Regions from separate parts of the Homo sapiens genome. Here region 1 is linked to region 2. Evidence: promoter capture Hi-C in human tissues and cell types (Jung and others, 2019). All regions are on one chromosome and are shown on one strand. The core of a region is centred on a gene start or on the middle of the fragment in contact, and the rest is flanking DNA. Distances in the headings are between cores, read along the strand shown. Region 1 overlaps LRRC4B (leucine rich repeat containing 4B). Region 2 holds the start of POLD1 (DNA polymerase delta 1, catalytic subunit).

Region 1 (4,676 bases), core at 1,050-3,549, 160 kb after region 2:
CTGAGCCCCCTCGCCCCCCCACAAAGAGAAACGGGTCCAGGTTCTACGACGGGGATGTTGCCACGGCCTGGGGCTGCTGGTGAGTGGCGTGGGTGCCTCCCTGTCCCACGCTCTCCCTGGCCATTTCTGCAAAGCGCGTTTCCCTGGCGTGCCGTCCCAGCCACTGGCTCCTTTTCCTCCTCATTTCTTCCCCACTAGAATGTGAGCTGCCGGGGCTAGGGCTGGGCTTTGCCTGGCTCGGTCACCACCCAGGACAGGGCTTGGTGCAGAGCCGGTGCTGCCGGTGTCTGTTGAACGTCACGTGTATAAGTGGGGGAAGGATGGAGTGCAGGGAAGCCGGGGGCAGGTGCATGGGGACCGCACAGTGCGGAATGTCACCTGCTCAAGGGAGATGTGGATGGATCGGTGGAGACTGCAACTAGGGAGATGCAGGGCAGACTCAAAGCAAACTGGCAGACATGGGAGCCTGTGGGAGGTGGGCGTGGACAGAGGGACAAGGCCCTGCGGGAGCGGGGGGTGGTGATGTGACGACGCCCCTGACGTTTCTGGACCCCTTCGCTGGCCCTTGCCCCACAGCCACCAGGAAGGGACTGCTCCCCTGAGAGGTCCCTTTTCTTCCCTGAATCTGGCTCTCAGGATGGTCAGATGGGAGCAGCCAAGTCCTCCCACCCTTTCCCAGGGACAGACCAGGCAGAAAAGCAGCCGCATTTCTTACGGGAGCTGTTACATCTGGAAGATTAGATCTGGAGGGGCTGGGACCTCTGGCATCGGCACCCTCTTCTCTCCCAGCTTTACAGGCTGGAACAGGAGGAGGCTTGCTTGGAGGCAGGAGTTGGACCAAATCAGCCTGGGGTAATGATCCCCTGGGAATCACTGGCAATGCCTGGAGATATTTTTGGAACTGGGGGTGGGGTGCTACTGGCATCTAGTGGCCGGAAATGCTGGTAAACATCCTACAGCACACAGGACAGAGCCCCCCACCCTGCCCGCCAAAGGATGATAGGGCAGGCCCCAAATGTCAATAGGGCAGAGGTTGAGAAGCCCTGCTTTCTAATAGCACAGCTCTGTCCCCCCAAGCCCTCGCTTACGGCCTATCCTAATCAGAGTCATCATTAATTGAGTGGCAGCTGCCCCATCCTGAGCACCAGCCACAGGCCACCATGGCGCCAAGCACCACAGCGTTCTCAGCCTCTCTGCTCTCCAATTCTCACACCAGCTCCAGGAAATGGGGACGCAAACCCTGCACTGCCCGGCAAATGACCATGGAAACGCCTCCTGTCCTCTGACCACTCGCCAGGTGCCAGCACACAAGCTAACGCCCCAATAAGTACCAGACCCATCAGCCCTCACAGCAACACCTCAACGCAGGGGCTTGCATTGTCCCCGCTTTTCAGATGAAGAAACTGAGGCTCAGAATCATGCCGTCACCTTCCCAAGGCCACGAGAGGGTGTGGTGGTGCAGATGCCACAGGGGTCCCTGTGAAAGGGTTGCTCTCCACACCCCAGGGACTCCAGGGCTCGGCCTAGGCCGACCCGCCTGTCCTGTGCCGGGGGGGCTGGGCAGGTGGCCTGCACTTGGGCCCCGACACGGTGGCTCAGAGACAGGGAGCACTGTGCTCTCAAAGCCCGGAGGGCCTCCACTCCACCTCGGGAGCCCGGCTCCAGCTGATAGGATGCAGACCCGCAGGCCACATCCACAGGTGCCGGAGACGGGGAAGCCCCGGTGTGGGGAGGCCCAGAAGGGATGGGCTACATCTGCATGCCTCCCCAGTGTCCCCTCCAAGGTCCCCCTCTGCCCGCTGGCCCCGCATACCTGGATGCCGTTCTCTTGCAGGTTCAGGTACCGCGTGTTGACCGGGATGCTGGCTGGGACCTCGGCCAGGTCTCTCCGTGTGCAGATCACCCGGCTGGCCTGGTTGCTGCAGGAGCAGGCCACGGGGCAGGAGGTGGCCGGCGGGGAGCCCCCTCCGGCGGCAGACGTCACGGCCACTCCACCTCCACCGGCCCCCAGGGGTGGGGAGAAGAGCCAGAGGAAGAGCAATGCCCCGTGGGGCCAGGACATCCTACCGGGCGGCAGCGGGGGGCACGGGGAGCCGCGGGCACGCGCCATCCTCAATGTTCATGCTCCGCGTGGACGCTGGGGGGCTGTGGGTGGGGGAGAGAAGGGGGAGAGGCTTGGTGAGGGACAGGAGCCCATGTGGCCTGGGTGCTTGCCAACACCCAGGCAGCCCCATCGCCGCCTCCCTGCCCCATGCCCAGAACAAAGGGACAGGGAGGGAGACAGCTGCCGATGGACCCACCCAGCAGGCTGGGGCAGGCAGAGGGAAGCTTGGCCCGCCTGGCCCTGCACTAGCTCATCCTCTCCATGCTGGCAAGATTCTACGCCCATTCTGCAGCAGGGAAAACTGAGGCTGGGGGAGAGGAAGTGCCTGCCCAAGGTCACTCATCCAGTAAGTGCAGAAGTTGTCCAGATTCAAAACCCAGTTCTTTGCATGACTTCAAAAAGGTAGATACATCAGAGGAGTGAGACAGACAGACAGACAGACAAGGCGAGGGGGCAGAAACGGGGAAGAGCAAGCGAGGTGGCGAGGACCTCGCTCCCATCCCAACACCCGCCCGGTCCCCTTGCCACCTGCGTGATCACCTGGGAGGTGGGTCCCAGCCTCCTCTCCCCTCCACTCCCTCCCCCTCTCCCCATCCCAGGGATGTTAGCGAAGAGATGCATTTCCCCCACCCCCTGTGCCCTCAGCTAAACCGAAAGACCCTCCGCTGCACACCCTCCTGTCACTGCCCACCCTGTCCAGGCCCTGTGGGGGCCTCACAGCAGCTTCAGAGACTTGAGTCAGACTCATGGGAGAATCTGAGGGAGAGAGAGGTAAGGTGGCAGACAAGGCAACCGTGGAGGTGACAGGTGTGGGCAGGTGAAGGGAGGGCTGGGAGGCAGCAGGGTGAAGAGGGAGGAGACTGGAGCTTGTGTGTGAGGGTGGCTGGGGACCTGACGGGGGGCGGCACAGGCCGAGAGGCCACCAGCTGCACCCCCTCCTTTGCCCCGAGACTGTGGGTGCTCCAGGCAGAGACAGCCCCGATGGGACTCATGCCAGCTGCTGCCGCAGGACCGAGCTTGGTTCTCGGGGAGGGGATGGGGAAGGGAAGGGGGTCCAGGGACTCTGCCTGGGTTCTGGGAGGAAAGCAGACAGCGGGGACTCGGGCCCTCTGAGAAGTCACGCTGTACCTCCCCAATCTGTCCTGCCCCGCCATTTCCATGGAACCAGAGAGGGAAAGGGGATGGGTGAGTCACAGCAACGATACCAGTAACAATAGTCTCTCCGGAACACTGGGTGAGCCCTTGCAATGCAGCAAACTGTATCCCGGTCATCTCATGTGAGCCTCATAATGACCATAGGAGAAAGCTATTAGGATGCCCAATTTACAGATGGGGACACTGAGGCACTATGAGGGAAAACGGCCTGTCCAAGGGCACAGAGCAGGCCGGGAGGGCGCAGAGGGGGTACTTCGGCCCTGGGTCTACCCTCTGGCTCCCAGCTCTCCTTTGCACGCAGCATCTCTGAGTACACACAAATACACCCACACCAGCAGGCCCTGCCCCAACACAGGCCAACCCCAAACCATTCCCAAGAGACCAGGAGGAGGGCAGGTCACACAAACACGCACACCGACCCACTCACACACTCAGCAGTGATGGGGCACACCCTCTCACGGTGGACTCTCAGGACCCCCCTCTCACGGTGGACTCTCAGGACCCCCGACACAGGCTCACCCCCAGGCACACGGCTATGCACACACACAGTCACTCCCTCCTCCTGCAGTTTCCAAGACCATTTTAACCCAGATAAAAATGTGTGTGCATACGTCTGTGTATCTGAGTGCATGTGTGAGAGCGAGGGCTAGACAGAGACACAGAGAGACAGAGACAGAAGCAGAGGCAGAGAGACAGAGGGCAGGGGAAAGAGGGAGCTGGGGAGAGAAAGAGAGAGAGGTTGATTCTGTGTCCACCCGGGCTCATTTTTCTCCTGCAGGGCTGGGGCCGTGTGTCTGTGTCTGACTATGTGAGTGCGGTGAGGGTCTTCATTTTCCTGAATGTGAACAGGGAGGTCAATGCCCAGTCCTTATCCTGGGTCAGGGGCTCCTACCTCTTAAGACCCTGGCGATGATCCAGCCCACACCCTCTTAGCCAAAGGGCTGGCCCAAAGCGCAGGGCCTGGATTTGAGGCCGGGGGACCCCGCAGGGCCTGTGGGAGCCCACGGCACCCACCCCGGCCTCCAGGCCTGCCGCTGCCATGTCTACCTCCGCATCTGTCCCCAGCTCTCCCGCTGCCAGCCCGCATCCCCCCACCCCCATCACGGCTTCTGCAGCGACTCGGCCTCCCTCCCCTTCCCCCCGCCGCCCTCCGCCATCTCCCATCCTTTTCTCCCCACAACCCCACGGTGGGGGACACTCACCCTGGTGGCTTGGCTTCCGCTGGGCCTCTCCCTGCGCCCAGGCCCCCCCCTCCACATGCCTCCGGCCAGCCGGGGTCTCTGCCTCCCCAGTTCTCCAGGGCTTCCTGTCGAGATCGTGCTGGGGGGGGCGCAGGGGCTTCTTGGGTCTCCCCGCGCCCCCCCCACTGGCCTGTCGCCCTTCCCACCCCTGGGGGGGGCTGTCCTTTGGCCACTGC
Region 2 (4,632 bases), core at 865-3,364:
GTTCAGGCTGGGTTCTGCCAGCCACACTGCCCTCCCCTCCGCAGAGTCTTTCCTCAGGCCCCACCCTGCTCGACTGGGAGCCAGGTCTAGTCCAAGCACAGAGGCGGGCCCCACGCTGGCTCCCACGCCTGGTCGGGGAGGGGCCCTCCTTTCTGTTGGGGTGGGCCTCCCAAAGCCTGGCAGGGCAGGGGCTCAGCCAGCGCCCACCTGCCTCCTCCCTCAGGACCAGCTGCGCTTCCCGCGCATGCTCATGAAGCTGGTGAGCCTGCGCACGCTGAGCTCTGTGCACTCGGAGCAGGTCTTCGCCTTGCGGCTCCAGGACAAGAAGCTGCCGCCTCTGCTGTCGGAGATCTGGGACGTCCACGAGTGAGGGGCTGGCCACCCAGCCCCACAGCCTTGCCTGACCACCCTCCAGCAGATAGACGCCGGCACCCCTTCCTCTTCCTAGGGTGGAAGGGGCCCTGGGCCGAGCCTGTAGACCTATCGGCTCTCATCCCTTGGGATAAGCCCCAGTCCAGGTCCAGGAGGCTCCCTCCCTGCCCAGCGAGTCTTCCAGAAGGGGTGAAAGGGTTGCAGGTCCCGACCACTGACCCTTCCCGGCTGCCCTCCCTCCCCAGCTTACACCTCAAGCCCAGCACGCAGTGCACCTTGAACAGAGGGAGGGGAGGACCCATGGCTCTCCCCCCTAGCCCGGGAGACCAGGGCCTTCCTCTTCCTCTGCTTTTATTTAATAAAAACTAAAAACAGAAACAGGAAAATAAAATATGAATACAATCCAGCCCGGAGCTGGAGTGCAAGATGGAGAGGGCGCGGGCTTCTAGGGACCTCAGTGACACTGGGTGCCCGAACCTGATTGAGCAGGTGGGACTGGGTGTCCCCAGGCTGTTGGGAAAAGGGTGGCACATAGGGTCCCAGTGTTGGGTGGTGTGTCGCCTGCTGTGAAAGTTCAGGACAGAGGCCTCAGCCTCAGGGTCACCTCCCTGGACAAGGTGAATCAGAACTCACCCTTGAAGGATAAACAGGATTTAAGTGAATGAGGGGACCTGGACTTCTGTCCGAACAACAAGTGTTTGCTGAGGCCTCCTGTGGGCCAGGCACTGGGTTGGCCATTCTAGAGATGGAGACATTCACCCAATAAATGTTTCCAGAGCATTAACTACAGTTAGGCACAATTCTAGGCACTGGAAACATCTGTGAACAAGATAACCATCCTCCTACCAAGACTCGGGGGATAGGGACTTTAATGAGCGTGGCACTGTGGTGGGGCTAGAGGAAATCAGGGAAGGTATCACAACAGAGGCAATCGCTGGGACCTAAAACAAGAGCCTGGGGGCTGGGCCTCCAAGTTGAGGGAACAGCACGTGCAAAGTTTGAAAGGAGAGACGCCAGGAGTTCGGAGCGAAGCGACGAAGTTCCTCCAATCCTTCCTGCCCCTGTGCCAGCCCTGAAGGAGCTGAATGAGCAATTCCAATCGAGGGCGAAAGGGGGGTTGGATGGAGGGATGCAACTTAAAGGTGTATTTATTTGGGGCGGGGAACAGCGGAAGTGAGAGTAGTTACCAATGATCACCTTATCCTAAGAGTAGTGTACCGGGCGCCCCACAAGTGTCCCTATCATGCGTTGTTGAGTCTAATTTACGTATAGGGAAACTGAAGCTAGGATGAAGGAGAACAGATCAAGCCAGGACTCTACCGCTTATCGGCCAGCCTCTGCGGGGATCTTGGGCGTCAGGTCACCAGCTGGCTGCTGGGCAGCGACGGGGCAGCGCTCCCTACACGGCCCCGGGCGAGAGGCGGGCGGGGGGACGCGGAGGATGCGCGCGCAACACCCGAGGGTGGGAGGAGAGAGAACAGAACCGCGGCGCGCCCAGACCGCACGAGGTCGTGAAGGTAGCCGCGCGGAGGGGCGTGGCTTCGGGCAGACAGGTCATGGGGAGGCGGAGTTAAGGGAATTTTTCAGCAAGGGGGCGAGGCCACTTCGGAAGCTGAGAGAGGGGGCGGGGCCTGCCCTGCAGTCGAACAAGCGGGGCGTGGCCTTGCCCGCACTTGGGCAGGCGGGGGCGTGGCCCGTCTCTGAGCGCCGCGGCTCTGGGCTTGCGCGCGCGGGAGTCAGGGGTCACGGCGGCGTAGGCTGTGGCGGGAAACGCTGTTTGAAGCGGGTGAGTAGAGGGGAAAAAGGGAGTTCGGGGCAGTGGGCCTGGTAGGGAACGGGGCTTGAGCAGCCAGGCACATAGATCTGAGAGACGGTTGCGAGGGCACCCTTTGGCCCGGGGGCGCGCAGGAGAGGGCAGGGGCCAGGGGTTTCCTGGGCGAGGGCGCGGGGACGAGCAGGAAAAGGCCGGGGTGGGGGTGGAATTCCTCGGCGGGCAGGGGGCGCATGCGCCGGGCACCGTGGGGCGGGACGTGGCCCGGGAGGAGCTGGGGGGACTGGGTGGTGCACGTGCGGGCTTGGTGTCATCCTGGATTCGCTGGGTGTTTGAGTACTCTGTGCCAGGCACTTTTCTGGAAGCAGGAACAAGTCAGAGAAGTCCCTGTCTCGGGAAGACAGACGGTAGACAAGTGATGAGTTTTAATAGATCAGTAAAGCAGTGCTCTGGGGCTGTGAGATGCTCTCAGAAGGAAACTAACGCAGGGTAACGTGATAATGAGCGAAGAGCCTGTTGCTTTAGCTGGAGTGGTCCAGAATCGACCGCTCTGGGACCCTCAAGTGCAAAGCCCTGAGGTGGAAGGAGCTTGGCGTATTTGTAGCAGGAGCCGAGGGGACGAGAGAAACACAGATGAGGTCGGAGTCATGATGGGGAACTAGATCCTATAGGGCCTTGTAAAACTTGGTATGGAATTTCTCCTTTATTCTAGGTTCAGCGGGGAGCCGTGGGAGGGTTTGAGCGTGGAAACAACACGATTCGCCCCATGTTTTGAAAAACTCACCACTGAGTGGAAATTGGATTGTAGCAGGAATAAGAATGGAAGGAGGGAGATCTGTTAGGAGGGAGAGCGTCCTGCAGGCAGAGAATCAGGCTCCGGTTACCTTTGCGGGCGGAGACAGGGGGACTGGCTGATGGACTGGGCGTAGGAGCAAGGGGAAGAGTCCAGGATGACTCCTGGGTTTGTGGTTTGAGCAGCAGGCTGGATGGGGAAGGCTAAGGGAGAAGCAGGTTGGGGTTGCCGCTCTGAAGGCAAAGATTAGTGGGGGAGTGAGTGGGCAGGGTTTAGAGCGGAGCCAGGAGTGGGCAGGGCGATGTCAGTGCCTCGCCTCAGCCCTTCCACTGAAGGAACTTGTTGCCACTGTCTTCTCTTTTTTTTTTTTTTTTTTTTGAGACAGAGTCTTGCTCTGTCACCCAGGCTGGAATGCAGTGGTGCAAACTCAGCTCATTGCAACCTCCGCCTCCCGAGTTCAGGCGAGTCTCGTGCCTCAGCCTCCTGAGTAGCTGGGATTACGGCACCCACTGCCATGCCCAGCTCATTTTTTGTATTTTTAGTAGAGATGGGGTTTCGCCGTGTTGGCCAGGCTGGTCTCGAACTCCTGACCTCAGGTGATCCACTTGCCTCGGCCTCCCAAAGTGCTGGGATTACAGGCGTGAGCCACCACGCACGGCCGCTTCTCCTCCTTCCTGCACTTCCCCCCCACAGGTCTCTCTTCCCCCTAGAGAGGTTCCTTCCCTCCCCCTGAAATGCTCTTCCCTCTCTTATGTGTTTCTGACAGCTGCTGTTTGGACAGGCCCTCTGCTGAGCACTGGGGAGCCAATGATCATTCAGTTTGGTTGGGGAAGGACAGGAGATTTCAGTCCAGAGTGCGCTGAGCTATGGCGGAGCAGTGATAGTCTTTGGGAGCCAAGAGAAGAACCTGTGCGCTCAGGGAAGACTCACCAGAGTGGTTGATATTCACAGGGAGTTTCAACTCACATGTCTTTTTTTTTTTGGTTTTTGAGACAGGGTCTTGCTCTGTCGCCCAGGCTGGAGTGCAGTGGCGCGATCTCGGCTCACTAACCTCCACCTCCCGGGTTCAAGCGATTCTCATGCCTCAGGCTTCCGAGTAGCTGGGATTACAGGTGTGTGCCACCACGCCCAGCTAATTTTTGTATTTTTAGTAGAGACAGGGTTTTGTCATGTTGCCCAGACTGGTCTCGAATCCCTGACCTCAAGTAATCCTCCCACCTCGGCCTCCCAAAGTGCTGGGATTACAGGTGTGAGCCACCACACCCGGCCTAAACTCATGTCTTGAAGTAACCGGACACTGTGCAGAGTGATGCTGGAGACCCCAACTTGGGCAAGATGCTGACTCCTTTTCTCAAGGAGCTCACAGGCTGAAAGGATCCCAGCTCTGCATTGTGCAATAACGAAAGTGGCACAAGGCGTTGTGGGAACCCTGAAGGGCAGCTGGTCAGCTTGGAGGAGCTAAGCCTGAGCTGAGTCTCTGGATGCAGTGGAGTTTCATGCAGCGAACACTGCCTAAGGCCTCCTGGGGGCCCACCCTGTGCTGGGTGATGCTAAGGTCCCAGAGGAGAGTCAGTCCTTGCTCTGCCATCCAGAGGTCCCTGGCTGGTAAGGGAGGAAGACACACACCCAGGCAGTCCAGAGACAGCAGTCACAGAGGCCTAGGGGAAGGACAAGGCCGAAAGCATGCAGGTGAGCC

The links. The method cuts DNA at HindIII sites, captures the fragments that hold promoters and counts their contacts. A contact is called where the count stands out against the background at its distance.
Region 1: a fragment that was not itself captured here is called in contact with the fragment with the promoter of POLD1 in region 2 in 1 of the 25 tissues and cell types used here (dorsolateral prefrontal cortex).

The regions. Positions count from the first base shown.
Region 1 is chr19:50,546,729-50,551,404 of GRCh38, forward strand. LRRC4B (leucine rich repeat containing 4B) reads right to left here. Exons shown (of 3, transcript NM_001080457.2): 2 at 1,814-2,145. The coding sequence starts at 2,110. Among named protein-coding and RNA genes, the nearest start is that of LRRC4B, 19 kb to the right of the region's middle. The HindIII fragment of the contact is 9,422 bases long and covers 1-4,676 here.
Region 2 is chr19:50,382,233-50,386,864 of GRCh38, forward strand. POLD1 (DNA polymerase delta 1, catalytic subunit) reads left to right here and starts at 2,115. Exons shown (of 27, transcript NM_002691.4): 1 at 2,115-2,158. NR1H2 (nuclear receptor subfamily 1 group H member 2) reads left to right here. Exons shown (of 10, transcript NM_007121.7): 10 at 224-1,156. The coding sequence ends at 370. RefSeq lists silencers at 1,779-1,878, 1,889-2,008, 2,039-2,128 and an enhancer at 2,848-3,349. The HindIII fragment of the contact is 20,023 bases long and covers 1-4,632 here.